2 separate regions of the Homo sapiens genome follow, and region 2 is linked to region 1. The links are contacts of gene promoters, found by promoter capture Hi-C in human tissues and cell types (Jung and others, 2019). All regions are on one chromosome and are shown on one strand. Each heading gives the region's core, a stretch centred on a gene start or on the middle of the fragment in contact. The rest is flanking DNA. Distances are from core to core; before and after follow the strand shown.

Region 1 (4,242 bases), core at 467-2,966:
AGGGCTGCAGCGGAAACCTGGAGAGGCCTTAAATATTTCTGCAGGGACCGAGGAAAGACCTTCTGGGGCAATGCCCCGATGACCCCAGCCCCCACCCCACTTCCATATCCAGCCTGCCTAGGGGTGGAGTTGGGGAGACATTCGTGCGGCATTTGTTTATTTGCTCAAGGAAAGGACGTGCATGCTCAGGGGACGGCCGGGGCTGGAAGGCACTTGTTGCTCCGCGCTGCAATGCTCAGCAGCTTATGCTTGCAGGCATTCTCTCAAACCTCGCCACGGCCCAGGCTGAGTCCACTGCCCTATTTCTGCCTCTCCCCAAACTCATCACCCTAAGAAATTCTGAGGCTGCAGGGGGCCAAAATGAAAATAGCCGGGTTGCAAGAATGAGCCTAGGGGAGGGGGTGAACTGTAAGAGAACTTCCACCTGCAAGGGACTTAGGGAGCGTTAACAGATCTAGAAGTGTGACGGCTCTTCAAAGGTGCTAGGAGTGGGAGGTGGCGAAAACTACTGGAGGAAGAACCGAGATACCGGGTGTTTTCGTTGTGAAAGATTCCTTGGCCTCCTTTTTTCGTTGTTAAGGACCGCCGCACCCCCAAAACTGACGCCCAGCAGCTCTTGAACTGCAGAGCAGTTTGCAGACCCCAACGCCGAGTTTAGCGGGCCAGTCTGCGTCCTGCCCTCCCTCCAGCAAGGTCACAGCTCCCTAGTGGAGCCCGGCGTTGGGTGCCCCTTCCTGGCAGAAAAGCTAAAAGCCCGACCCCACAGCCCAGGACTCCCACCTCCCGTTTCTGCGGATTCCCCCGGACCACCGGGTTCGCCGCCGCCACTCCCTCCAGCTGCGCGTCTCTACCAGCCGGAGCCTCGGTCCCCACCTCCCAGGCGCAGTGCGAAGCCGTCACCCTCCCCCGCCTCGGGGCGTTCCGCTCGGCTTCCCGGCCCTGGCCGCCAGACCCCGAGCGCACCGCTATTCCGAGGCCCCCATACCCTAGGAGGACCTGGGTCCGGGAGGGGGCGGTCGGCTGGCAAAGTTTCTGCAAGTGGCACCTCGAGCTCGCCGCGAGCCAGCGCATCTTTACGTAACTTTGTGTCCAGGGCAAGCGAAAGCGCGCTCCTTCGCGCGCGCGCACGCACACACACTCACACACGTACACAATCACACGCTTATACACATACTTCCACGCATCCAGTTACACACATCGCCTCGAATTGAAAACTTCTGCAAGCTCTGCGTTATTCTTTGGGGTTCCACTGTCAAGTTGACCCGTCTGAACTTTTCCCAACTTCTTTCTAAAGTTCCCCCTCTCCCTTCTCCTTCCCTCCCAATGTATCCCCCCAACCCCGCCAGTAGGACTAACCTGTGGAATCCATGTCGGGTTCCTCCAGTAACCCACAATGCATGCTCTTCCCATGGACAGCACAGGCGCCCCCCAAAAGTCCTGATGTTTGGGGATCCCCTGTGCTAGAGATGCCCAGGGAGGAAGGGAGGGAGGGAGGGAGAAGGGGAGAGAGAGAGACGCAGAAAGTGAGGGGGCACAAGGATAAAGGAGGAAAGGAAAAGAAAAGAAAAAGAAGAGGAAAGAAAAGAGAAAGAAGAAAAGAGGAGAGAGAGGGAGAGAAGGGAGCGAGCTCGGAGAAGGGGGAGAGAGAAAAAGCGAGCGAGCAAGGGGACACTCAGTAATCCAGCCGGGCAAAGCCAAACCCGTCAAAATGTTTGCGGATGTTTCATGGGAAAAAGCATCATTTTATAGGAGCCCCGATGGGAGCAATGTCATTGATAGGCCAGCCGGCCTGATGAATGGCCGCTCGTCAGATGGGGCCGTGGCGAGGCGCACTGTGAAGCCCATTGTGGGCCTGTTTTGAATAAGAAAAGCCGCCTCCGAAAAGGGGGGCTCAGAGCGACGCAATCCCAGCCCTCCGACTTCCCCCTTCTATTATAGCATTAGCAACGTTTTTCTTATTTAAAGTTCCAGAGGCCTTCTCCAGCCTTCGCCCGGCACTCATTATAGGCGAAATCAAAATTGGCTTAGATGTGGCCCCCTCCCCCTCCCGGCCCTTCCCCACCATCGGGCCCCGCGCCGTGCTGGCAGGCCGGGAGGGGGGCGCGGGCGGGGGGGGAGCCGCGGGGAACTCCTGGAGCCTGGGGAGTCGCCTGCGCTACCACGAGTGGGGCCCCACTCCCTTCCTTCTCTTGCGCCCCCACCCACCCCCCATTTTGGTCCTGGGTTAGATTTCGGGTGGTGGCCCTGAGAATGCGGGAGGGGGTATGTCTTGACCCCTTGCACGCGGATCCGCAGACACGCGTGGGGAGTGAAGCGAGCTTGAAGGGGAAAGGGTGGGGAAGGGGAACTGAATCCCTAAGACCCCATGCCCCAATATGAGCGTAACAAGGCCGCTAGGCGGGGAGGAGGTGAGTGGCTGGTTCGCCTCCTCCAGAACTTTCTGTCTTCCTCTGGGCCTGGGTCCTTCATCCTGTTTCTCTCCTTCCATCTCGCTGTCTCTCTCCGCCTGTCTCCCGGTGTCTGTTTCTAGCTCTCTGTCCCTCTCGTCCTCTGTGTCTCTGTCTCTGTCCATTTCTCCTTCCTTGGCTGCTAGTGTCTCTGTCCAGACCCTGCCTCCACTTCTCTTTGTCTCCCCCTAGGACTCTGCCCCTCTCTGTCTCTATCCCCCTCGGTCTCTCTGTACTGTCCCCCCTCCCCCGCCTCTTCCCGTAACTCTGTCAGTCTGTCTGTCTCTGTTCCTCCGCCCTCCCCCTGCCCTCCCCACCCCACCGCCGTCCCCCAGTCGGCCTCGAAGTTTGTGAGAAGCCCCGGCATCCAAGTGGGGACGCGGTTTTCCCAGGGACCCCCTCCTCGGCGGAGTTGAAAGTGCAGAAAGAGGGGGGCGAGGGCCGGGGGGTGCTGGAAGTGGAAGTGAGGGGGAGCAAGCTGCGTCTCCTGCGGGCCCCGATAAAGTGGCCGTTCGCGGGTCGGCCGCGCTGTGATTAGAATATGAATGGGGCCCGGCGGGCGGAAGAGAAAGGCGGATTACCCCGGGTGCTTTGACCATGGACAGAGGCAGAGCCGGCGGGCCGCGGCGGGGGCGGGGAAGCGCGGAGTCCCTAACGCCGTGCGGGAGTGGGGGTCTCTAACCCCGGGCCCCTGGCAGCGCGCGGCTTTCCGCGATCCTTCGGAAAGACGCCCCCCGCCCCCTCGGTCCGCCCCCTCCCCACAATCAGAGCTGAGTGGGACAATGTACGGAGACTGGGGAGCCCGAGGGGCCAGCACGTGCCGAGTTAAGGTCACGGTGCGGGAGGAAGAAGGCGGCGCGCGGTACCGGCTGGACAGAGCCCGGGATGGACTGACGGTAGCGCGGGGTTCGAATCCCAGCTCTGTAAATTCCTTCATCGTTCTGGGCCTCAGCTTCCTCGTCTGTGAAATGTAGCAAAGTTGCCCCCTCTCAAGCTTTGGGGGAAGATAACTGAAGCAGTGGTTATAAAAGGAGCCGGGCATTTGCTGTTCCCTCTACTTGGCACTCTGCCGGCTCCTCCTTCCTCACAGGTGCCTAACCGGCCGACACCTTTGCGTCACCCTGGTCTCAGCTGAGCGTCGCCTCCTCGGAGGGGCTGTGCCTGACCACTCTCTGCGAAGGTCCCTTCCTGCCCCGGCCGCTGCCGGGCTCATTACCCGGTTTATTTCTGGAGGACTTTGTTCACCACCCCATGCCCAGTGCCCAGAAGGGCGCCAGGCACATTCTTTCCCGCTGCGATGCTGGTGATGGGAAAGAGGTCGATGGAAACCTTTGGCAGCCGAATGCCATGGTGGCGGTCACCGCGCGTCCTCGTGGTGCGCCTGGCAGCAATGACAGCGGAATTCGAAGTCAGATCTGACTGTTCGCGTTCGCCTTTGTAGCCTTAGCTTCTCTGCCACTGGAATAGGCTGAAGAGTAAAAGCCTTCTTCAGACGGCGGGAGGGTCTGACAGCGCGTAGATGGAGCCTGGCCAGGGGCGTTCCGGTGGCAGCAAGGAGCGCGTCCCCAGGGTGGGCGGCTGCCACCGCCCGGAGAGTCCTTGAGGGATGCCACGGGGGCACGGGTGGTCTCCAGGGCGGATGAGACTATTATTGTTGCTATTATTATTATAATTTTTGCACGCAGAGTGGAGGTGGGTAGGGTGAGGTGAGCCGGGCTCACAGGCCAGGAGTGAGGCGGAAGAACCCGGAGCCAGCCCAGCACAGCTCAGAGCCGGGCCAGGTGCGGCTGGTCCC
Region 2 (4,240 bases), core at 102-2,601, 200 kb after region 1:
CATGGAATCTGGAAACCCTGCTGTTCCTGTCACTTTCAGCCAATTGTTGGTTATAATCAACAACCATCAAGTCCTAATGACTGTCAAGGTCTGTGTTAGGGCCACACAACACTCAAAGAGAAATGATGTGTCTTTTCTGGTATCCCCATTTGTTTTCCCGGGTTTCTGACCATAAAGACAACTAAGGAAAGAAAAAGGGCACTCCCCTTCCAGGACTTTTCAAAAAATACATGATCCTGTTTGCTCTTCACAGCAACTCTCTTAAAATTCTCACCTTAATAGATGAGTTATTCAAGACTTAAAGAGACTGGAAAATATGCCCAAGGTCACATAACTAATAAGTGCAGATGCTGGGATTCAACCTAAATCTGTCTGATTCTAAGATATCCAATACTCTATGCTGCCTCCCAGATGGAAAAGTCTAAATAGTGGTTATCAAACAAATTCCCATCAATTTATTAAAACATACCTATTGTGGGAGACCAATAAAAGTGACCATTTATGACCAAAATATTTAGCTCATTTATCCAAACTAAAAATTTTAAAATATTTACTGATTAGAATGTAGTGGATACGTTTCAGGAAAATAATTGGCAACATGCACCAAGTTTAAAAAAAAAGAAATTCCACTCTCAGGAATAAAGTCTTACAAAACAATCAGCAATGTGCACAAACAGGTATGTATAACAGTCATCCTAGGGTTGTGTTTAAGAGTAAAGCCTTGGGGAAAAAAATGACGCCTAAATGCCCCACTAGAGGAAAGTGGTTAAGTAAATTCCACCACAAGTATGCAACTTCTACACAACAGTCACTAAAAATAATGATGCAGATTCATAACAGGGAAAGCTATTCATAATGCACTGTTAAGTGAAAAAAATAAAAATGTATGTGTATATCACAAAAGCACAGGAAAACTGTCTGGAAAAATATATCCAAAAATGTAGATATACTTTTAAGTGGCTTTCTAAATTTAAATAATGCAAGGAATGTTTTTATAATCAGAAAGGGAGAAGTCTGAAACCACAACTACTGGTTACATAAATATGCATATTGTTAATTTACAGCCCTATTCTAAAAAGGATTTAAGTCAGCTGTGTGTATGTAAGCATATGCGTGTATAGATGTACAATATAAACATTAAACAAACTTGACAGAAGAAACTTTTTTCTTTTTTTTTTTGAGACAGAGTCTTGCTCTGTTGCCCAGGCTGCAGTGCAGTGGTGTGATCTTGGCTCACTGCATGCTCCGGCTTCCAGGTTCACGCCATTCTCCTGCCTCAGCCTCCTGAGTAGCTGGGACTACAGGCACCTGCCACCATGCCCAGCTAATTTTTTGTATTTTTAGTAAAGACGGGGTTTCACCGTGTTAGCCAGGGTGGTCTCCATCTCCTGACCTCGTGATCCGCCCACCTCGGCCTCCCAAAGTGCTGGGATTACAGGTGTGAGCCACCACGCCCAGCAAAACTGTCTTATTAAACTCATCACCGGGCCAAAAAACAGTACTTAATGTTTTCTGATTTTAATGTATGCATGAGTCTAGTCATGCATTTTCCATGAGTGATAGAAGATTATATGCATTATAATTAATTTATAATTTCTGGTAGAAAGAAAGAGTACTATGCATCTTCAAGTGTCTATAAAACTTTCTAAAAAAAAAAGTCCTTTGGATGCATGGGAACATACTGCCCTCTGCTGGAGATGTAATTCTACACCATTAGATAAAGTTTTCTTTTTTTTTTTTTTTGAGACGGAGTCTCCCTCTGTCACCCAGGCTGGAGTGCAGTGGTGCGATTTCGCCTCACTGCAACCTCTGCCTCCTGGGTTCAAGCAGTTCTCCTGCCTGAGCCTCCCAAGTAGCTGGGGCAGGCGTGAGCCACCATGCCCGGCTAGTTTTTGTATTTTTAGCAGAGATGGCTTCTCACCATGTTAGCCAGGCTGGTCTCAAACTCCTGACCTCAAGTGATCCACCCACCTTGGCCTCCCAAAGCGATGGGATTATAGGCATGAGCCACCGCGCCCAGCCCCGTTAGATAAAATTTTCTTTATTCATCAGTATGTACATAAAACACTGCATTGGGCACTGTGGGATCCCTACAAGAAAAGTCAAAATTACTTTTGTGCTTAAAAAATGCAAACCGTAAAGAAAGAAAAGAAAAAGTATATTTAAGAATTCTTCCTGGGCCCTCTGATATCATGGTACTGCTACTAAGACTATCATCATCATCATCCTGAAAAGAAAATGGCTCCATCTCATTTATAGAACTCAAAAGCACATTAGGCTACAATAAACAGTTTAAAATTTCCTAAAAGTTTCTTCACACAATTGCATTTAGAACATGGATGCTTCCTGAGTTAAAGAACCTGACTTGTCAATGTCCATTCAATACTTATGAATACTCTTACCAATACTCTCTCCCTAAATCCCAATCACCAGACTGATTTGAGGGCTACTTTCCTCCCTGACTCCTATACTCTGTCACCTGATTACAACTTTAACAGTAAAGACTCATTCCCTTCTTTCTTACTCCTCTGAGGCTTATACCCAAAATGCTTTTCCGTTTCAACGAACTTAGTTCAGCCTCAGAGGATCTCTTCCTTTGTTTTTTTTCTAATTTTGACTCAAAAATTATTTCCACTATCATAACTATTGAAACTGAATAAATACTATAAATTTCTAAAATTATCTGAAGCATCCAGTATCTCCTCAAATAATCTGAGCTCTTCATTTCAACTAAACTGGTTATCAAGATTCATTTTATACCTATATACAATCGGTTATCATTATCCAAGGTAGTTATGTTCTATAAAGTTGCTGAATTATACCAAATACTGAATAGTGAATACTGAACCATTGCTCCAGGAAAAATATAGGGCTAGGTTCCTGTGAGCCTATGGTCACAACATTTTCCTCAACTAATCAATACAGAACGTTATTTTCTGTGTGTTTCTTTTAAAAGATATTTAAGGCCAGGCGCTGTGGCTTACACCTAATCCCAGCACTTTGGGAGGCCAAGGCGGGAGGATCACACGGTCAAGAGTTCGAGACCAGCCTAGCCAACATGGTGAAACCCCATCTCTACCAAAAATACAAAAATTAGCTGGGCGTGGTGGAGGGCGCCTGAAATCGCAGCTACTTGGGAGGCTGAGGCAGGAGAATAGCTTGAAACTGGACGGGAAGTTGCATTAAGCTGAGATCACGCCATTCCACTCCAGCCTGGGTGAAAGAGCGAAACGCCATCTCAAAAAAAAAAAAAAAGACATTTAATATATATCGATTAGTTAACTTTGAAGTTAGCCAACAGCACTATAACTCATGCCTGAACAAAGCTTATCAAGCTTATCTAACACATATTTTCTCCAGAAGGCACATCACAGCCTGTTTGCCCTTTGGAACACCTCGACAGCACTTTAGCATTATACTAGGGGGCCATCTTATACTGCAATCAACAAAGCACAAAAATACAAAAAATACGGCACTAAATAGACTGCAAAACAGACACTCGATTACAGCATGAGGGCTGAAACAAGAAGGCAGAGTGTTGCCTTGTTCAATCTCAGCTGGGAATATGTGCGCTGGGTGATTCTAAGTTTTTACCACTCTGTGTCAGTGCATATCTGTGAATAACCACAAAAGCACCACAAGTATTGATTTTGGGGTTATGTATAAATTTTAGCAAGTAAGTGAATTCACAAATAAGGAATTTGCAAATACTGAGGATCAACTAACTGTATCACATAATGCCAACTATTTTTTTATTTTGCTTGATAACTAATACGACAATTTAACTGTTCACTGAATGTGTATAGTATTTACATCTTAGAACAGGTTAAATGGGCTGCTATGTAACTACAGGTACATATCATTTTTATCATGCTTTGCTTTATTGGGCTTTGTAGATATTGTGTTTTTTCCAAATTTAAGGTTTGTCCCTGCTTCCAGATTGACCCTGCTTCAGGCAAATCTATTGGTGTCATTTTTCCAAGAGCATGTGCTTACTTCATGTCTCTGTGTCACACTTTGGTAATTCTTGCAATATTTCAAACTTTTTCACTGTTATGGGGACCTGTGATCAATGATCTTTTTTTTTTTCTCTCTCTTTTTTTTTTTTGAGATGGAGTCTCACTCTGTTGCCTAGGCTGGAGTGCAGTGGTGCAATCTCGGCTCACCGCAACCTCCACCTCCCGGGTTCAAGCGATTCTTCTGCCTCAGCCTCCCAAGTAGCTGAGATTACAGATGTGCG

The links. Contacts are between HindIII fragments. The study calls those that stand out against the background at their distance.
Region 2: a fragment that was not itself captured here is called in contact with the fragment with the promoter of RFX4 in region 1 in 1 of the 25 tissues and cell types used here (mesendoderm cells).

What each region holds. Positions count from the first base shown.
Region 1 is chr12:106,580,478-106,584,719 of GRCh38, reverse strand. RFX4 (regulatory factor X4) reads right to left here and starts at 1,716. Exons shown (of 18, transcript NM_213594.3): 1 at 1,357-1,716. The coding sequence starts at 1,399. The region is part of intron 1 of LOC100287944 (a long non-coding RNA gene); the gene reads left to right. RefSeq lists enhancers at 682-1,266, 2,755-3,637. The HindIII fragment of the contact is 9,839 bases long and covers 1-3,952 here.
Region 2 is chr12:106,383,846-106,388,085 of GRCh38, reverse strand. All of the region lies in intron 9 of POLR3B (RNA polymerase III subunit B), which reads right to left. Among named protein-coding and RNA genes, the nearest start is that of POLR3B, 28 kb to the right of the region's middle. The HindIII fragment of the contact is 3,960 bases long and covers 1-3,331 here.